Linked DNA regions of Homo sapiens: region 2 is linked to region 1. Evidence: promoter capture Hi-C in 16 types of primary human blood cells and fetal thymus (Javierre and others, 2016). All regions are on one chromosome and are shown on one strand. The core of a region is centred on a gene start or on the middle of the fragment in contact, and the rest is flanking DNA. Distances in the headings are between cores, read along the strand shown.

Region 1 (5,038 bases), core at 224-2,723:
CCCCCAAGCCTCTCCCCGTAACTGCACCTATCACCCTCAAACCATTGTCTGGCTGCCTGTCTCCTCCCACACTGGTCCCTGAGCAGAAACAAGGACTAATCCATGTTTTTCAGCTCCTACCCCTAATGAAATACCCTAATAGATACTGAAAAATGTTTTTGAACCAATGAGACAAGTCTACTGATAATAAACAGGCAAATAACAGCAATGTGCTAACAGTGGCTGTTTCTGGTGAGCAGAATTTTGAGGTCTGTTCCTTTCACTTCTTGGTATTTCGGTTGTTTCTGTAATGACTGTATCTTGCTTTTGTAATCATAAAGGACAGTAAAGGAAACTTCATTTTGAAAATAATACAAAGGGATTCGGGGACTTCAAAAGAAGGTGACTCTCCTCGTCCACTCCAGAGAATCAGGAAAGGAGTGTTTAAAGACCCACAGAATTCCTACAAGTGACGTTGGGGGGGGGCCAGCCAGCCAGGGCGCATGCCGGCCAGCGAGTGGGGTGGGCTCTGGGTCCGGGAGAAGTCAGATCAGTGCTCTGTACAGGGCCTTGAGGGCAAGACGAGGAATTTCGACTTAGGTCCTTGAATCTGGAGAGCTACAGAAAGTTTGTGAGCTCAGGAGAAGCGCTCCGAGCTCGGCATCTGGAGCAGTTCAAGGCAGCAGCGAGCAAGTCCAAAGACGCAGGAGGGAGGGTGGGGTGGAGGAGTAGAGAGAAAACAGAAGCCGTCTACAGACCCTTTTTCCCTCTGGGGCAACTAAACCTCAAGTGCAGGAAGCGCTTGGGGACTGCCCAGCCCTCAGCTGTGTTATTATTCGGTGATAGGTATTTGCTAATTACTTCCAAAAGCCTCCCATCTGTCATCCCACCCAGACTGCGCGCTTCTAATTCCTCCTACCCCACATGCTGTGCCCAATGAAAAGTATGGTCAGCGAGCGAAGGTTTGCAAGGAGACAGACGAGGGCGAAATTAAGCCAGGCGGCTTCCCTTTAAATCCTCGCAAAGCAGAAGGGCCCCTCACTCTGGCAGCAGGCCTTGGCCAAGGGGCCTTTAGCCCTGACGACCCGGGGAAGAGTCTCCCAAAGCAGAACGCCCGGTCCGGCGCCCAGACCAAACGCGGGGGAACCGGAAGGGCGAGGCCTCCACGTAAGTCCGCGGTAAAAGTGGCAGGGAGTGGCTGCCTGCAAAGACCCCAAGACGGCTTGAAGAAGGAGTGGGTGGCGGGTGGGGGTTAGGGCGACTAGGCGGGGAAACAGGGAGAGGGTCGGGCTCCGCGGGGCAGCTGGGGCCGGGGCTCGCCGACCTGGGCGGGGGCGGGGGGCGGGGGGGGTGCGGCCCGGGCGGGGCCGGTGGGGCGGGAGGCGTGGCCGGCGGGGGGAGTGGGGGCGGCTTTTCCCGGCACATGCGCACCGCAGCGGGTCGCGCGCCCTAAGGAGTGGCACTTTTTAAAAGTGCAGCCGGAGACCAGCCTACAGCCGCCTGCATCTGTATCCAGCGCCAGGTCCCGCCAGTCCCAGCTGCGCGCGCCCCCCAGTCCCGCACCCGTTCGGCCCAGGCTAAGTTAGCCCTCACCATGCCGGTCAAAGGAGGCACCAAGTGCATCAAATACCTGCTGTTCGGATTTAACTTCATCTTCTGGGTGAGTGAGCGCGACTGCCGCGCGCTCCTCTCAGGGCCCACCTGTTCGCGGGCCCCGGACACTGGCCGCGGCCGCGAGTGCCGGCAGCTGGCACTGCCCGCACCGGGCAGGCACCGGGCGGGAAGAGAGAGCGCCCTGCGGCTGCCAGCTGGCTCCAAGGCCGGGTCCAGAGCCGGGCGGGACGGCCGCGACGGGCGCATTCGGGTGGGGGCTCATCACCGCCCAGCCGGCGTGGGGAGCCGGGCCCTCTTGAGATGAGGCGTGCGGGAGGGTCCTGAGCACTTTAGCTCGCCTAGGATTTGAGCTGGGGTGTGTGTCTGCTCCCAGCTCAAGTCCCTCCGAGTGCCAGAGAGGAAGGCAGGGAGAAGCGGAGCACCCCTCTTTGGGCCAAGGCCAAGGAGGACTGTGGTGAGCAGTATGGCTTGTGACCGGGTGGGGTCTCCCAGGTAGTAGGGGGCGCCAGGAAGGGAGGGTGCGGGCACGGCGAGAGCTCAGCCAAGAGCGGCTCTCACTTTTACGCAGGAGCGGCAGGGGTGCCTCGGCCGCGGGTCCGGCCCCGGGACCCAGTCCCTGAGAGTCGGGGGCCCCTCCACCCTTGAGGAGGAACCTCGCAGGCCCCCGTTCCCTCAGACTTTGATTCTGAGCCACCGTGAGAGCGCCGAACTCCCTGGTAGCTCCCTGAAAGACTAGCTTGTCTTGATTTCTTTCAAGGACGATAAGTATCTTCACTGGAGAGAACTCAGAGTTCGGGAGAGGAGGGGGCAGATACCTATCTGCGCCTCTAGTGGGATGAGTCCTGTGTGTGCATTTCCGGGAGAGATCAGGTGCCAGCCAGCTGCCCGCCCAGGAGAGCCTTGGCCTTGCCCTCTCCCCTCCCCGCCAGCCCAGGCGGCCCACCCAAGGCCAGGCAGGGCGCAGAGCGGACGTTCATCTGGAGAGGCCAGCGGGGCCAGGAGCTCCAGAGACACCTGCTGCAGGCCACTCAGCCTCTACAAATGGGAAGGCTGAGAGGCGACAGAAGCAAGGAATAGGAAACCCTTGTGTCCTTGTTTCTATAGCCACATTCCCTGCACACACATGACAATACTTGCCGCTCTGCAGGCAGGAAGAGAGTCTCTATGCCACTCTCAAGATAGATGGATGTAGAAACAGGTGCATGCCACCAGAGTCTTGTAACAAAAAAGTGCACTTGGCCAGGCACAGTGGCTCATGCCTGTAATCCCAGCACTTTGGGAGGCTGAGGCAGGAGGATCGCTTTCATCCAGGTTCAAGACCAGCCTGGGTAACATAGTGAGACCCCCATCTCCACAAAAAAATAAAAAATTAGCTGGGCGTGTTGGCATGCACCTGTGATCGCAGCTACTCAGGAGGCTGAGATGAGAGGATGGCATGAGCCTGGGAGGTCAAGGCTGCGGTGAGTCATGATTGCACCACTGCACTTAGCCTGGGTGACCTAGTGAGCCCTGTCTCAAAAAAAGTAGAAAAGAAACAAATGCACTTATTCCCCCTGGAGCTGGTCACTGAGGTCCCCACAAGCCTCCTTAGGGAAATCTTCTAAGATTCACTCCTCCCCAGAGCTGAAGGGGTGGTTGAACAGTTTTTCCAATTTGCAGAGACTGACTTCCCCCAGTGCATCAGTCACCATAACACACACCCCAGTGAGGACGGCATATAGGTGTGCTCCTTCCCAACCCTTGACTTGCTTTAAAAAGACCCTGCTGGCCGTGGGCACCCCTCCTCCTGTGTTGCCACCCACCCCAGCAACCACCCAGCTGCCACGCTTAGCTTCTTTCTTTCACCAATCCCTGGCAGCAGAAAAGTATGCGGGAAGGCAGCTGGCCTCACCCACCCTTGAACTTTGGGAGTTTTCCTCTCCCCTCCCAGGTACAGTCTCTCCCGGCTGGTGTGTTGGTTAGTCCTCAGCTGTCTGCCTAGACTGCATCCAGGTTTGGGACTGCAGGGAAACACAGACTGCCACAGTGTGCCTCCCTACCCCCATCTGCCCCATGGCATATGCAGGAAGCTGATGCGAGGCTCACAGGGCCACTGGTATCTACTCTGTCTGTGGCCTGCTGGCCTGCAATCTGTCCGTACTGTCCTCAGCCTGCCACCCCACTCGTATTCAGAACCCCCTATGCCTGGCCCCAGCCTAGGTGCAGCTGATGACCTATGTAGTCTGAAACAGAAATCACTCACACTGGAAATGTTTGGAATGACTTTTGAAGATCATGCAGTCCAGCTCTCTTATTCATAGTGAGGCAGCAGAGGAAGAGAGATGGGGTGATTTACCCAGGATCGCAGAGACAGAGCCAGTATTACAATTCCTGGGGCCCCTACTTTACTTCTGTCCTCTTCCATCTTCATCAGAGGCAGGAAGATGGGCAGTAGCTATGTTTTCCTGAATTACTGTTCATTTGTCCTGTATCTGGGTCCCTGTGGAGATGAAGCCCTCATCCCTAGGAGATGATGTAATGAAAAGGAAGACTGTGGTCGGTCCACTTGTGCAGAGTGTTAGTCTTTAGAGCCTTTCTTGTTCTAGTCCCATGATGTAGCCAAGAGCAGGAAGCATTGTCCCCACTGTACTGATGATCAGGAAACCATTTCCCAGAGAGGTTAGGTGACTTATCCAAGGTGATGCGGCAGGGTGGTCTCAGAACTAGGTTACTTTACCCAACTGGTTTTGGCTGCTGAGTGGGAATGGGAGAAGGGTGGGAAGAAGCTCCCAAGACTCCCTTAAGGAAAGGTGTAACCTAAGGGAACTGCTTGGGTGATTATGTTGTCACCACGTCCGTTTCTCTCTTGAGACCAGACATTTATAAACTTGGCATTCGGAACCTGATGTGGGCCTTGAAAAGCAGGAATTGTGAGGCCAGTGCCCAGCAGCACTTTGCACAGAGGCTGCTGAGAGGGGGTGTCCAACAGGCATCCAGAGAGAGGCCAACCTCAGTGGAGTAGGATGGTTATTGGGGGGCTGTGCCTCTTCCCTGGCCTGATCTCATCCCTGTGGGTCACTCCCTGATGGCCACAGCCAAACCAGCAAATCAGTCTGTTCTTCCACCACCTCCAGAACCGGCCCTCCTAGCTCTATTTTGATTGTTTCTACATTTCCTTCAGACCTCCCTGCCCGCCTGCCCACCCCCCAAAAAACAGTTGAGAGGGAAAACATCTTGCTGATGTCCATGTGGTAGACACACAAGTATTTCTCCAGCTGAAATGGGGAACCAGGGTTAGGGCCAGTCCAGTCTGACACATGCATGTCTGCCCTCTTTCTGGTCAGAGAAGGGGAGGAACTCCTTAGGGCAAAAGAGGGAAAGGTTTGGCTATACTGACAGAGCCCAATCCCCTCCCCACCTCCCTCAGCCCCTTTGCTTACTGTCTCTCATGCCTCGCTCACTGATG
Region 2 (5,001 bases), core at 99-2,598, 55 kb after region 1:
TGTCATTATGCTGCTATGATCACGAGGTGCCCTTGGAGACAGCAGGAGGTATGAATGAGGAAACTCGGCACTGGGGCTGGACCCAGAGTGTTGGAGGCGGGTTGCTCAGGCTACTAAGGCAGTTTGGGGTGCACTAGTGAGGAAAGAGCTGGCAGCAGGCCAAAGTCCAGGAATGGGCAGGAAAGGGTACAATTAGAGATCTTGGAGAAAGGACTAAGCACCGGCCGTTGCAACCATCTACAGACTCACTGGGACATGTCTTGAAGATTTTCAAGCCCGGTAAAATTTCTGTATTTGAGCACTACCCCTAGAAAGTCTTGGTAATTTCAGGATTTACGATAAAATCTTTCCAATGACCTGGCCTCTCAGTTTTTTGACCTCCTCACTCACTCCTGTGGCCAAAGGCTTTCAAACTTGTTTGTCCATGACCCAACCATATGTGTGACTCAGTACACACAGGCACCATATAGAAATACACACATCTGGCTGGGCACGGTGGTTCATGCCTATAATCCCAGCACTTTAGGAGGCTGAGGTGGGTGGATCATGAGGTCAGGAGATCGAGACCATCCTGGCTAACACAGTGAAACCCTGTCTCTACTAAAAATACAAAAATATTAGCCGGGCGTGGTGGCGGGTGCCTGTAGTCGCAGCTACTCGGGAGGCTGAGGCAAGAGAATCGCTTGAACCTGGGAAGCGGAGGCTGCAGTAAGCTGAGATCGTGCCACTGCACTCCAGCCTGAACGACAGAGCAAGACTCCATTTCCAAAAAACAAAACAAACAAACAAAAACAAAAACAAAAAATCCACATCTACATATATAAAATTGAAATGAAAGTTTTATGATATGATACATATCCTTGCTGCATGCAATGTGCTCTGCTATTTTCTATTCTATTCTATTCTATTTCATTTTTATAGATGCTGGTTTTAACCCACTAACTTAATTTTATGATCCACTAATGGGCTGTGTCTCTCAATTTGAAAAACACTGTCCCAGACTTTTTTTTTTACTACTTCACTCCAGTTTTAGAGATTGAGATGTTGATGGGAGCCAGGTGCACTGGTGTACACTACAAAGGTGCACCTGTAGTCCCAGACCCTCAGGAGGCTGAGGCAGGAGGGCCACTTGAACCCAGGGGTTTGAGACCCCATCTCTACATTTAAACTTTTTAAATTTTTTAAATGTTGAGGAGAAACCAGCAATGAAGACTGAGATGAAGTAGCCAATAAAGTAGAAAAAAGAGACCCTTCATTAGCTCAATCCAAGCATCACAGTCTCCAATCCCTTTCTGTCATTCGAACTCACTCCAGTCCTACCCTACCCAAAACCTCTCATCCACTGACCTTACCACCTTCTCCTTGTCTCTCACATCCTCCTGATGTCACTTCCCCTTTATCTGATTTAGATTACATAGGGCATAATAATCTATTACTTGGGCTGGGTGCGGTGGCTCACGCCTATAATCCTAGCACTTTGGGAGGCCAAGGCTGGTGGATCACCTGAGATCAGGAGTTCTAGACCAGCCTGGCCAACATGGTGAAACTCTGTCTCTACTAAAACTACAAAAATTAGCTGGGCTTGGTGGCAGGCGTCTGTAATCCCAGCTATTCAGGAGGCTGAGGCAGGAGAATCGCTTGAACCCGGGAGGCCGAGGTTGCAGTGAGCCAAGATCGTGCCACTGCACTCCAGCCTGGGGGACAAGAGCAAGACTTCATCTCAAATAATAATAATAATAATAATAATAATAATAATAATAATAACAATCCATTACTTGATTTGTTTAATAAATAGTTACTGGCCAGGTGCGGTGGCTCACGCCTATAATCCCAGCACTTTGGGAGACCAAGGTGGACGGATCGCATGAGGTCAGGAGTTCAAGACCAGCCTGGCCAACATGGCGAAACCCCGTCTCTACTAAAAGTACAAAAAAATTAGCTGGGTGTGGTGGTGGGCGCCTGTAATCTCAGCTACTAGGGAGGCTGGGGTAGGAGAATCGCTTGAACCCGGGAGGTGGAGGTTGCAGTGAGCGGTGATCGCGCCATTGCATTCCAGCCTGGGTGATAGAGTGAAACTCTGTCTCAAAAAACAAACAAAAAAAATAGTTACTGAGGGCTCACTCTGTGCCAAGCACTGTTCTAAGGTACTGAAGATACAGGAGTGAACAAAACAAAAGACTGGCCTGTGAACATGTTTTTATTGGGGGGAAACAGACAATAAGAAAATAAACAAGGGCCAGGCGCAGTGGCTCACGCTTGTAATCCCAGCACTTTGGGAGGCCAAGGCGGTCAGATCACCTGAGGTCGGGAGTTTGAGACCAGCCTGACCAACATGGAGAAACTCCGTCTCTACTAAAAACACAAAAGTAGCCGGGTGTGGTGGTGCATGCCTGTAATCTCAGCTACTCGGGAGGCTGAGGCAGAAGAATTGCTTAAACCCAGGAGCTGGAGGTTGCGGTGAGCCGAGATCGCGCCATTGTACTCCAGCCTGGGCAACAAGAGCAAAACTCCGTCTCAAAAAAAAAAAAAAATGAAGAAGGAAAAAAGGAAAATAAACAAGAACATTTAAACTATTTCAGCGTACAGGCATACCTCAGAGAACATTGCAGGTTCGGTTCCAGATCACTGCATTAAAATAAATATTGCAATAAAGTGAGTCACACAAAGTTTTGGTTTCCCAGTGCATATAAAAATTATGTTTATACTACACAGTAGTCTATTAAATGTGCAATGGCATTATGTCTAAAAAATATGTACATATCTTAATTTAAAAATACTTTATTGCTAAAAAAAATTATGCTAACAATCATCTGATCCTTCAGCAAGTCATATCTTTCTGCCTTAATGGATGGCTGCTGACTGACCGGAATGATGGTTGCTGAAGTTTGGGGTGGCTATGGCAATTTCTTCAAATAAGGCAACATGAAGTTTTCTGCATTGATTGACTCTTCCTTTCATAAAATATTTCTTTGTAGCCTGCAATGGTATTTGGTAGCATTTTACCCATAATAGAACTTCTTTCAAAATTGGAGTCAGTCCTTTCAAACCCTGCCACTGTTTTATCAACTAAGTTTGTGTCATATGCTAAATTCTTTGTTGTCATTTTCACAGAAGTAGATTCCGTCTCAAGAAACCACTTTCTTTGCTCATCCATAGGAAGCAACTCCTCATCTATTAGTTTAGTGCAAAAGTAATTGTGGTTTTGCCATTACTTTGAATGGTTTACTAAATATTAATATTAAAGTTTTCTCATGAGATTGCAGCAATTCAGTCACATATTCAGGCTTCACTTCTAATTCTAGTTCTCTTGCTATTTCCAATACATCTACAGTTTCTTCCTCCACTGAAGTCTCGAACCCCTCAAAGACATCTATGAGGGTTGGAGTCAACTTCTTCCAAACTTCTGTTAATGTTGCTATTTTGACCTCCCCCCATGAATCACGAATGTTCTTAATGGCATCTAGGATGGTGAATCCTTTCCAGAAGGTTTTCAGTTTACTTTGCCCAGATTCATCACAGAAATCACTATCTATGGCAGCTATAGCTTTGTAAGATGTATTTCTTAAATAATAAGACTTCAAAGTCAAAATTACTCCTTGATCCATGGGCTGCAGAATCAATGTGTTAGCAGGCATGAAAACAGCATTAATCTCCTTGTATGTCTTCATCACATCTCTTGGGTGACAAAGTGCCTGTCCATGAGCAATAATATTTTGAAATAAATATTTTTTTCTAAGCAGTAGGTCTCAACAGAAGGCTTAAAATGTTCAGTAAACCATAGTATAATGGTTAACAGACATGCTGTTATCCAGGATTCATTGTTCCATTTATAGAGCACAGCAGAGTAGATTTAGCACAATTCTTAAGGGCCCTGTAATTTTAGGAATTGTCAATGAGCATTGGTTTCAACTTAAAGTCACCAGCTGCCTTAGCCCTTAGCAAGAGAGTCATCCTTTCCTTTGAAGTTTTGAAGCCAGGTGTTGACTTCTCCTCTCTAGCCAAGAAAGTCCTAGATGGCATCTTCTCCCAGTAGATACCTGTTTTGTTTACATTTAAAACCTGTTGTTTAGTGTTGCCACCTCATCAGTTATCTTAGCAAGATCTTCTGGATAACTTGCAGCTTCTACATCAGTACTTGTTACTTTATGTTGTATTTTTAGGTTACAGAGATGGCTTATTTCCTTAAACTTCATGAACCAAACTCTGCTAGCTTCTAACTTTTCTGCAGCTTCCTTACCTTACTCAGCCTCACTGAATTTAATCAAAGAGAGTTGGAGCCTTGTATGGATTAGGCTTTGGTTTAAGGAAATGTAGCTGATTTGATCTTCTATCCAGACCACTCAAACTTTCTCCTTATCAGCAATAGGTTGTGTTGCTTTCTTATCATCTGTGTATTTACTGGAGTAGCACATTTAATTTCCCTCAAGAACTTTTATTTTTAATACACTAATTGGCTGTTTGGCACAACAGGCCTAGCTTTCAGCCTTCTTCGCTAAGCTTAATCGTTTCTGGCTTTTGATTTAAAGTGTGAAACGTGTGACTCTTCCTTTCACTTGAACACTGAGAGGCCACTGTAGGGTTATTAATGGGCTTCATTTCAATATTGTTGTGTTTTAGGGGCTAGGGAGGCCAGAGGAGAGGAAGAGAGATAGGGAAATGGAGGGTCAGGTCAGTGGAGCAGTCAGAACGCACACAACATTTATTGATTAAGTTCACCATCTTATCTGGGCACCATTCGTGGTGCCCTAAAACAATCAGAATAGTAACATCAAAGATCACTAATCATGGGTCACCATAACAGATATATTAATAATGAAAAAGTTTGAAATATGGCAAGAATTACCAAAATGTGACAGAGACATGAAGTGAGCACAGGCTATTGGAAAAATTGTGCCAATAGACTTGTTGGACACGAGATTGCCACAAACCTTCAATTAAAAAAAAATGCTGGGCGCAGTGGCTCACGCCTGCAATCCCAGCACTTTGGGAGGCCGAGGCAGG

The links. Contacts are between HindIII fragments. The CHiCAGO score rates a contact against its expected background, and 5 or more counts as called.
Region 2: a contact is called between a fragment that was not itself captured here and the fragment with the promoter of CD9 in region 1, in 1 of 17 cell types (monocytes). The highest score is 5.5, in monocytes.

Annotation. Positions count from the first base shown.
Region 1 is chr12:6,198,927-6,203,964 of GRCh38, forward strand. CD9 (CD9 molecule) reads left to right here and starts at 1,474. Exons shown (of 8, transcript NM_001769.4): 1 at 1,474-1,639. The coding sequence starts at 1,574. RefSeq lists enhancers at 346-958, 959-1,570, 2,797-3,409, 3,410-4,021. The HindIII fragment of the contact is 13,626 bases long and covers 1-5,038 here.
Region 2 is chr12:6,254,551-6,259,551 of GRCh38, forward strand. The region is part of intron 2 of LOC105369625 (a long non-coding RNA gene); the gene reads right to left. Among named protein-coding and RNA genes, the nearest start is that of PLEKHG6, 54 kb to the right of the region's middle. The HindIII fragment of the contact is 6,294 bases long and covers 1-4,495 here.